Linked DNA regions of Homo sapiens: all the other regions are linked to region 2. Evidence: promoter capture Hi-C in human tissues and cell types (Jung and others, 2019). All regions are on one chromosome and are shown on one strand. The core of a region is centred on a gene start or on the middle of the fragment in contact, and the rest is flanking DNA. Distances in the headings are between cores, read along the strand shown.

Region 1 (3,430 bases), core at 10-2,509, 500 kb before region 2:
TGCTCCTTGAGGGAAGGAACTAAATTCTTACTGTAAACATTTGCTAAGTATTTACTTAATGTCACTGGCACCAAAAAACATGAACTGGTACATCATGAAATGTACTGTAAAGATGATAACAGCAAAAGACAAAAGACTACAACCACAAACAGAACAACACTTTAACAAAATTACCGTTTTTGCAACACTAATATTAAACATGAGATATATGAAGTTCTGAGAATCATAAACGAGCCTTTTCATTTCAGTTCCACAAACTTTTACTTAATTTTTATGAGTGCATAATTGTACATGTTTATGGGGTATGTGATTTTTTTTCTTATTTTTTAATTGACAGAAATTGTATATACTTATCATGTACAACATGATGCCCTGAAATATGTCTACACTACGGGATGGCCAAATTGAGGCAATTAACATATGCAAGACCTCACAAACTTCAAATTTTTTGTGGTGAGAACACTTAAAATCCACAAAAATTAGTAATGTTCAGAAATACGGTATGTATCTTAGCAATTTTCAGAAATACAATACTAACTAGAGTCACCATGCTATATAATAGATCTTCTAAACTGCTGTCTAACTCAAGTTTTGTATCCTTATACAAGCAAACAATGTGTAATGGTCAAATTAGGGTATTTGGGATATCCTCGACCTCAAACATTTACAAATTCTTTCTGTTGGGAACATTCCAAATCCACTCCTCCAGTTATTTTGAAATATACAATAAGGTATTAACTATAGTTGCCCTATTGTGCTACCAAACAATAGATCTTATTTCTTCTTACTGCATTTTTGTACCCATTAATTAATCCTTCTTAATTTCCCACCCCCTACTACCCTTCCCAACCTCTGGTAACCATCACTTTTTTTCAGTTCCCACATATGAGTGAGAATATATGATATTTGTCTTTTTCACAAACTTTTATTTATTGAGTAGTTAATGCAAAAGTAAGAGAATGCAAATGAAGAAGACTTCCACTTTGAAGGTTCCTCCAACGTGAAAACATGAAAATAAAAATAAGTGATCTATATGTTCTTGGTCAGCTCACAACATTTATTAAATATAGAACCACCAACAGTGGGTTCTTCTGAAACAAAGGATAGGATGTTTTACTTTGGTCACCAAAGGCATTCTTTCCCTTAAGTAATGCTACAAATCTGTAAACATTTATACAACTGAAATACATTTTTAGAAGTCATTTCTCTTATTTATTCTACTGTATAATTCTCATTTATGTTTTCTTAAGTATAGCTTTAAAAATTTCTTCAGGTTCTTTCTCTTCTACTCATTATAAGAAAGTCATGTCTAAACATCTACTGCTAAAAAAAAAAAATAGACAAGACTAACCTGTACTCCCTAGAGGTGCACATTCCACTGATAAAACCATAAAGAGAAAACACCAGGAAGTTATTACTAAAGTGGTCCCTTCTTGATGGGAGAGAGGGACTGTCACTGGGATGGAACACAGAGAAGGAGTTCTTAGGTGGGCAGGGCACAGTTTTATTTCTTGATCTGGACAGTGTTCATTTTATAATTCATTAAGCCATATATCTGATTCATGTTTTTATGTGTGTTTATTTTATAACAAAAATGTTTAAAACAAGTTTTTTAACATTGCTTCCTCTTCCACGAGAACATGACACACTAGACAAATAAAAAACACTTTTCCTAGCTTAAGGAATATCAAACTCTCTTCTCAAATATGTGGCTCACAGAGGAAATCTTTACACGTTTGCACACTTTCCAAGCAGCGACTTACATCCTCATTTTCATTTAGCCCAGACAGACGTCAACATGGCTGCAGCTGAGATGCAGGGCCACAACAAGATACCCTTGTTCATGAGACTGATCTTAAGAAGACAGATTCACTTGAGAGGAGATGACCCTGTGGTACTCTGTTGCTGATATCCCAAAGAAAAATCTGTTTGTTGTCACATAATAGTAACGTGGCATAAACTATCCGTTTAATAATTACTCAGCTTTAAGATTAAGACTAAGACTTATATTTAAGACTTTAACACTAAATTTAAGACTAAGACTTAAGTTTAAGACTTTAAGTTTATTACTAAGCTTATGAAAACTTAAAAAGACCTTAATAAAGCCAGGAATAGTGGCGCACACCTATAATCTCAGCTACTCAGGAGACTGAGGTGGGAGGATCACTTGAGAATAGCAGTTTGAAACCAGCCTGGGCAACATAGTGAGACTCTATCTCTAAAGAAATGTAAAAAAATACATTAATAGAATACCGGCAGGTAACCCCATTGTTGTGACTGTCGGTTAACCTCGGTGTCAAAGCCTGTCAATCCCAGCTACTCGGGAGGCTGAGGCTGTTTCACATAAATTTTGACTAATGAAAATTACATTTGTTTTGCTTTGTGCGCTTATAAACAAGTATTAAAGAGGCAAGAACACACAGGCTAGACTAGGAACACGGCAAGGCCATGAACAGTCCTTGGCGCACCATGTTCTGTGGTCCCAGGAACCTGGTGCCAACCTCTGCCCATCCCTGCTCCTGCCAGCGAAACCTCCCAGATACCCAGAGGAAAGTGGCAAAGTAAACAACCAAGAATCTGTGGGGGACTCAGCTTATTGTGCCATCTTCTTTCAACGTGAATGAAATGCTTTGCAGTCTTCATTCCTAAAAACATTTCTGGTGGCCGATACAATTTGCACTACTGACATTTGGTCCTGCCTACTACAAACTCGGCTCTTGTGGGTATAGTCTCATTTAATAATAAAAGAAAACCCCGTGACATGTCATTTCCATTTTAAAGTTGGAAAATTCAGCTCAAAAGTCTGCCAAAGCTTTGGGTGATAATGATGTACTGAGTAGGTTTGTAACAAATGGACCACTCTAGTGACAAATGTTGACAGTAGGGGATGCTGTGTGTATGTGGGGGTGGAGGGTATATGGAAAATCTCTTTATCTCCTGCTTAATTTTGCTATTAACCTAAAACTGCTCTAAAAAATAAAATCTATTAAAAAAAAAAAGGCCTGCCAAGGAACAAATAACTCAGAAGTGACAGAGCTAGGACTTGGGCCCAGACTTGGCTACCAAAACTCTTCCCCTTCTGCTGGAAAATCAGCACATGGCTTTTTAGACAAAAGCATAGTCCACCATCCACAGTAACGGGTAGAGGCTAACATTTCTATTTTGCAATTTAAAAAAAATCACCTTTCCTAAAATATTTTTCACTGTCTGCTTTGGGAAAATAAAAAACTAAACTCCTCTACGACCAACCCAAGAAACCAGAATATGAACTTAATATTTCACTACACTCATCTAATATGAAAGTCCACTGCAGCATTGGGAAGAAACTTCACTGCTGATGATGTTCAAATGGAATTCCTCCTCAATCCCTCGGCCCTGGGGCGCATTACCTCTTTACTGCAGCACAGCAAGAGACGGATCCTTCTTTATT
Region 2 (3,427 bases), core at 126-2,625:
CTGGGGACTCCAGGAATCAGGCCCTCACCCCCTCCCTGTCTCTGCCCTATCCTGTGTGCTGTTCAGGGCCAGGTTGTGGGAGGGGAAGAACCTGCGGCCAAGGGGACAGAATGGGGAAAAGGGAAGCCATATACCACAGGCATCTGAGCCTGCGTGCCCTGATGTCCACTTGGGGTCCTGGCCTCTGCCGACCCTGGGTCCCCTTGAAAAGTTTGTGGACTTGGGGTTGGGACCCTCTTGGCTGTTGCGGTCGCGTATTAACCAGCATGGCCATTGTGGAGCTCACCAAGCTGATGTCCCTCAATGCCACAATCAATCATTAAACCCAGGGCACACTCCTGCTCCTGTGTCTCTCCCAGAAAAGTGTACTCCGGAGGCGAATACTCTGCCCATACCTCCATATTTTGTGTATCACATCAAGATTCCAGAAGGAAGGCTGCTGAGATTTGAGGGGAGGCTTCAGCTTCTGAAACCCCACCCTGTCACAAAGCAGAGCTGGTGCCTGGGGCCCTGGACAGCGGCCGGGGCTCTCAGGAGTGTGTGCTGGGACCAGAGGCTTCCCTGTAGTTCCGTCCTGCACATGCTCCAGAAACAGCTCAAGGAGACTGGGGGGATCGGGGCACCTGTGCTGCTCCCAGCCCTATCAGAGTCAGGCCTCATGAGTGCCCGACACCGCCTGGAGGAGGCAGTGGGCTGGCAGGAGGTTCGTGCGCACAGGGCCACAAGGTGGGTAAGCGCTCACCCAGGAACGGGGGCTGCCAGCTTCAAACAGAGGGAGGCCAGGGAGGCCTTGAAGGATGGATCCAGGGCCATCCCCACCTGGGCCTCTCCCTTACCTATGCGCTCCCCGATGTCCACGGCTCGCTGCCCCCAAATGCCATTGGCCCCAACCAGGAAGGAGTCCCCAGGCTCCAGCACATTGACCAGGGCGGCCTCCAGGGCACAGTGTCCCGAGCCAGAGATGACCAGTGTGAGTGGGTTCCTGGTCTGGAACACGTACTGGATGCCTTCCTTGATCTCGTCCATGATCTGCATGCGGGTGGTATAGGGTGAGACCCAGGCTCCCCGCCTCCCCAAGTGAGGAGGCAGTGACCCCCTTCCCTCGTCCACGATCTGTGGGTGGGAACATGGGTGAGACCCAGGCCCCCCGAGTGACCCCCACTCCTACCTGGTACATATCCTTGCTCATGGACCCGATCATCTGCAGCCCCCCGGCTGCCATGATGCGAGGAGGCAGGTTGGAAGGACCAGGCCCCAGCAGGAGCTGGTTGGGGATGGAGAGGGGCTTGAGCAGGGCCTTGGGGGGGGTCACCAGCAGCTTGTGAGAGGCCATGGTCCGCACCCAACCTGCCGCTCGGGAACCTGGGGCTGCACTGGCCTTGGCCAAAGCCTGGAATATTTCCCAGCAGGGCGGACACAGAGGTGAGAGGTGAGGATTGGTGGATGGGCTTCCGTGGCAGCCCTGCCTTTTGTTCCCTGAGGCTTATCTGTGCTTGTGCTGCGGGTCACGGCCAGGCAGCAGGGGACGAAGCCCTCAGGCAGAGGGAGCCCCCAGGGCTGAGTGACAGAAAAACAGAGTGTGACAAAGCTGTCCTCACCCCAGCCCTCCTCGCTCCCACTCTGAGTCCTGCACGTCCAGCCCCTCTTATTCTGCTTAGCTCAGGGGTGAGAGAAGTGTTTCTTAAAGGGTCGGAGCACAGATAATTGAGGCTTGGCAGGCCCTGTGGTCTATGTTGCAACAACTCAACCCTGCTGCGTGCTTGCAAAGCAGCTGCCAGAGGTGTGGGCGTGTTCCTATAAAACTTTATTTACAAAAAGCAGGTGGCAGGCCAGATTGGGCCCATGGACTGTGGTTTGCTGACCCTGGCGCAGCTGATGGGAAGGCTTGTAAACCAAAAATAAAATTCGAAGGCCCCCCAGCAACCATCTGAATGGGGTTCCCTGTCCGCCAGGGTGCTCTAAACTTTAACCCGGAAGACGTTCAGGCCATGCCACATCATAACCCCCAGCATTAACATCGACATAGACCTTAAGTCTGATAGGAAGCATTTACCATCTATTTTCTCTCTAAATCCCGCTACCTGAAGGCATCATCTGCTCCCTGCAACCCCTATTTCATAACCCAGACACTCCTTTCTGCTGATAATAATTCTTCAGTCAGTTGCCAATCAAAATATGTTTAAATCTACCTATGACCTGGAAGCCCCCCAATTCAAGTTGTCCCGCCCTTCCAGATGGAACCAATGTAAATCTCCCATGTATTGATTGATGCCTCATATCTCCCTAAAATGTATAAAAGCAAGCTGTGCCCCGACCACCTTGGGCCCTTGTGGTCAGGGGTGCACCCTTGAGCTTGGCAAGGATGTCCTCCCTCCTGAGGCTGTACCACGGGTGCATCCTTAGCCTTGGCAACAAAAACTTTCTAAATTAATTGAGACCTGTTTGAGGTACTTTTTGGTTTACAGGCTCAATTTAGCAAGCAAACCTGCATGGTATACAGACACACACAAGGCAGGGGTTGCACAGTGAGTTTCAGCATGCTGCATTCCAGAGATGTATAGAAATTCTAGTTATGTATAAGTTTTAGGTTGAAAAGAGGCCTGGAACCAGGTGCCAACTTTAGATAATAGGGAAGTCTAATTCATTCTACATTTCTCAAATAAAGAGGCTCCCCTCCACCCACCCCACCTGGGGCCTGCTTGATGGTCTCCAGGTGATCTTTGCTGTCCTCATTTTCCCTCTGACAAATATCTTGGTGAAATCTTTGACCCTTCCTTTTCTGCCATGCTCATGTCCACCTGCTTCCTGTTGGGGTCTCAAGAAAGGGGAAACGGCACAGTGAAGAGGGGTGTCCAGTGCGCCTGACTACTTGCTGCTGAAAGGGAGTTCAGGGGGGTAGGTCACGTTTTTCCCTTTCTTGCTCTCGGTCATGAAGGGAATAAAGGGTCATGAAAACTTGTGCACGGAGGCACGTGATGGGATTCCATCAAGAAGCCCCACGTAAATGGGAGCTGCAGTTGCAGGCCGGTATTTCCATCAAGAAGCCCCATGTAAATCGAGCTGCAGTTGCAGGCCAGTGTTGGGAATGCATAGCCTTCTGCAGGTGGAATTGTTCTCATGTAGAACATAGAAAAGCAATCAGAGCATTAAAAAGGCAGGGACCAAATATTAAAAGAAAAATGACAGAAGATAAAGGTCTAAGGAATGGGGGAAGCCAAGTGATTTTTTGAAAACCAATCAGTAAAAGTTTTGGCCCAGTCTTGGTTGCTTTGGGAAAGTGTGTGTAGCCATTTGGCTTGTTTGATGATTTCTTGGGCATCGGTTTCCACTTCTCCAGACACATAAATGTAGGTGCAACGGGTCCTGTTGATGACAGCACAGACCCCTCCTTGTTCAGCTAGGAGGTAATCCAGAACTCACCTGTTAC
Region 3 (3,600 bases), core at 337-2,836, 350 kb after region 2:
ACACCATGTTTAAGAGCTGTAAAGGGGGGCCAGGCGCAGTGGCTCACTCCTGTAATCCCAGCACTTTGGGAGGCCGAGGCAGGTGGATCACGAGGTCAGGAGATGGAGACCATCCTGGCTAACACGGTGAAACCCCGTCTCTACTAAAAATACAAAAAATTAGCCAGGCGTGGTGGCGGGTGCCTGTAGTCCCGGCTACTTGGGAGGCTGAGGCAGGAGAATAACTTGAACCTGGGAGGCGGAGCTTGCAGTGAGTGGCATCGCGCCACTGCACTCCAGCCTGGGCGACAGGGCGAGACTGTCTCAAAAAAAAAAAAAAAAAAAAAAAAAAAAGCTGTAACACCGCGAGTTCCGCGACTTCATTCTTGAAGTCAGCGAGACCAACAACCCACCAGAAAGGCATAGATCCTGGACATGTTTTGACAGTTTTTGAGCTTTACATGGTAGCGGCAGACAAGGAGAGCCAGCACCCACGTCAACGCAGCTCCCTGGGCTTCCGAGTGGTCAGGGTCTGGAGACGGGTCTGGAGACTGGGCTGGAGGCTGCTGCTCAAGTGCTCAAGGACGATCTAGTTCCCGCGGCTCCGATTCTGTGCCTACTGCAGGGCCAGTGGGCTTGGCTCGATCCTACACCTGCCCTGCCCTCATGGTCATTCCCGCTGCCATCTGGGCCCCCTACCCCCAGTCCCCTCCTCCCTCAGCCCTGCGCGGCTGCACAACCCCCACCCACCTGGTCCCAGCCTCTCTTGAGGCCCAAGTTTTCTCTGGAGGCACAGTTTACTCCTGACCTGGCCAGCCTTTCAGTGACCCCTCAGAGGTGTGTGTGCGCCTGTGTGTTTGTGTCTTTGTGGTGTGAGTGGTGTGTGTGGTGTGTGTGTGGTTTGTGTGGTTGTGTGCTGTATGTGTAGTGTGGTTTGTGTGCTCTGGTGTGTGGTGTGCCGTGTGCGTACTGTGTGGTGTGCGCTGTGCTATGGTGTGTGCGCTCTGGTGTGGCTTGTGTGTGGGGTTGTGTGCTGTGTGTACTGTGTGGTGTGCTGTGGGTGTGGTTGTGAGTGTGCTGTGTGGTGTGCTGTGTGTGCCGTGTGTGTGCGCTCTGGTGTGGCTTGTGTGTAGTTGTGTGCTGTGTGGTGTGTCTGCGTGTGTGGGTGTGTGCTGTGTGTGTGATTGTGTAGTTGCGGCACACACATACTCCCTACGCGCCCCTCCCCAGCCTCCTCGCTGGCATGGCCCCGTTCTGGGCGCAGTGCAGGTGCCTGCCCTCCAGGGGCCCACGGGCGCACCGTCTTTTTCAGGCGGAGGAAGCGCTGGCGGACCATCAAGCTGCTGCTGCGCCGGGGCGCGGACCCCAACCTGTGCTGCGTGCCCATGCAGGTCCTGTTCCTTGCTGTGAAGGCCGGGGACGTGGATGGGGTGAGGCTGCTGCTGGAGCACGGGGCGAGGACCGACATCTGCTTTCCGCCGCAGGTAGGAGCCGCGGCGGGCGGGCGCCGGGACGAGCGCAGCAGACTCCCGGGCACTGGCCGGGAAGCTCCTCGCTCCACCTAGGCGCGGAAGAGAGGGGTGGGCTCTTGCAGGCGACCACCTGGGCTGTGAGTGATGACGGCGCGCCGCAGTGGGGGGTCCCACAGCCCGCTCTTTCACCCATGTCCCCAGACAGGATTTGGACACCGAGCTAGTTTTTAGAGTACTTCACGATCCGTGTGATTTTTTTCCCAGTGTTGAAGCAAACTAAGGGGAAGCGCATCCTGAAGGCCCCTTGGAAAGGGGAGACTTATATTCAGGAGGAGGCGGGCCTCCTTTCAACCCACGCTCAGCATCACAAGGACGCAGGCAGGAGAGGCAAAGGGTTTTGGTGCTGAGGTTTTATCTTTAGCTCAACAGATCCAGCCGCAAAATATTTAGCTGAGAAAAAATCTTCGAAGGGGAATCTGATTTTATATTTTTTTTCTTAAGAAGTGCCTTTCCCAGCGGACGGCTTCTTCCCTCTCTGAGGCCACACCCACCCGTGAGCAAGCGGCTTCACAGGGCATTTTGCTCTGGAATAAATTAGCCTGCTAGTTCTTCGAAGAAAGTTTAGTGTTTCTGCTGAGTTTCACTGGGGACTCAGGGCTTTATGGGCTTAGCTCGTTCAAACAACTCTCCTTTTCCCACCTGTCCCCCTGGGCAGTGTGTACCCCCGTGCTTGGCCCCAGATTCCTGCAGCCCTTCCCACAGCACAGCTGCTGGAAGGGCTTCCTTCCCGAATTTCCACTGCTCTGGAATGGAATCGGTCGCTGCCCATGACTGCTCCTCCTCTCAGAGGCGTCTGGGGTGAGGCCAGGCTTCTCTCGCAGCTCCGTCAGTCCATGAGGGCCTCGTTAGGTTCACAGGGGATGGGGCGAGATGGAAGTATGACAGCAAGCGTGGGCTCACTGCGGCGTTTCCTGTTCACTTTAACGTGACGTTATCTGTTGTATTTCATCCCTTTGCCTGAACCCTTGTTGTCATTCTTTCTCTTTGTATTTTGAAGGACCCTACAATCATTTCTCTAATTTAACATCTAGACCAACCCCATCACAATTTTCCGTTCAGTGCATCCACCCATCCACACTCAAGAAACCACTGCTGTCCACAGTGGCTGTGAAGATTCCAGATGGGTGACGAACTGGCACCAGGGCCACCTTTGGGTGCCCCCAGAACAGGGGGCCCATTATGCAGACCCATGATGGGCTTCTGTCCACTTGGCTGTGAAATTTATTTGTAGATTTTGTTTTTCTTCTCCGGTTGTGTAAACACTCGTCCATCGTTTCAGCACTTTACCTTCTTCACAGGGTGTTGATGGGGTGAGAGCTGATGGCTCTCTCTGGGCACCAGCCTTGCCAGTTGTCACTCAGGCGGCATTGAGTGTTTGAGGGCAGGCGGGTCTCACTGTCCAGGCCCCTTAGTGCACAGCCTTTCAGCTTGGAAATTAAACTTTTCTTCCAAGTGTAAGATTACACAGAAAACAGAATTTTTGGTTTAAGACTCAGGATAATTTCATACCTTTTTAGGTTTACTGATTGGACTCCGTCTTTGAAACTGATTAAGGTCACAACCTTTAAACTGGGCACGGACATCCTTCACTGTGTCACATGTTTATTCACCTGTTCATAGCTGATCAGGAATGTATTATTTACACATTTATCTTTCAAATAGAAAGTTTTTAAAAATTAAAATATTTGAGTGGGTTCAGAAATGAACATGTCACCAAAACGCCAGGGGTTCGGTCTAGATCCTGCTGCTTACTGCACAGAAAGCCAATCAGTGAGATGACAGGTACTGCCAGAGAAGAAGGCTTTAATTGGGTGCTGCACCAGGGAGAGCAGGAGATTGTTCTCAAACCCTGTCCTCAACCGACTAAAATTGGGGGTTTCATAGCAGGGAAGAAATATAACCACGTGTGGGAAAGCAGGAATTAGGAGGGCTAAGAAAAAAGAGTTGGTCAGCAAGAAGCTGGTGGTCCCAGAGGCAGGCATGATGGGTGAGGGGTCTAGGGTCTCACTGTCCAGATGCTGTGATCTAGTGAGTCTCTGTTCCTTGATACTATTTAGGAGGACTGCTGGTTGGTTTCCTGAGGAAGGAG

Evidence for each region. Contacts are between HindIII fragments. The study calls those that stand out against the background at their distance.
Region 1: a fragment that was not itself captured here is called in contact with the fragment with the promoter of AGXT in region 2 in 1 of the 25 tissues and cell types used here (aorta).
Region 3: a contact is called between a fragment that was not itself captured here and the fragment with the promoter of AGXT in region 2, in 1 of the 25 tissues and cell types used here (lymphoblastoid cells).

Annotation. Positions count from the first base shown.
Region 1 is chr2:241,367,445-241,370,874 of GRCh38, reverse strand. The region is part of intron 1 of FARP2 (FERM, ARH/RhoGEF and pleckstrin domain protein 2); the gene reads right to left. LOC105373973 (a long non-coding RNA gene) reads left to right here. Exons shown (of 3, transcript XR_924066.2): 2 at 338-500. Among named protein-coding and RNA genes, the nearest start is that of FARP2, 13 kb to the right of the region's middle. The HindIII fragment of the contact is 3,975 bases long and covers 1-3,246 here.
Region 2 is chr2:240,866,772-240,870,198 of GRCh38, reverse strand. It overlaps AGXT (alanine--glyoxylate aminotransferase), which reads right to left and starts at 1,375. Exons shown (of 11, transcript NM_000030.3): 1 at 1,169-1,375; 2 at 837-1,029. The coding sequence starts at 1,333. RefSeq lists an enhancer at 1,356-1,856. The HindIII fragment of the contact is 24,692 bases long and covers 1-3,427 here.
Region 3 is chr2:240,518,225-240,521,824 of GRCh38, reverse strand. ANKMY1 (ankyrin repeat and MYND domain containing 1) reads left to right here. Exons shown (of 18, transcript NM_001282771.3): 9 at 1,292-1,463. Among named protein-coding and RNA genes, the nearest start is that of ANKMY1, 38 kb to the left of the region's middle. The HindIII fragment of the contact is 6,500 bases long and covers 1-3,600 here.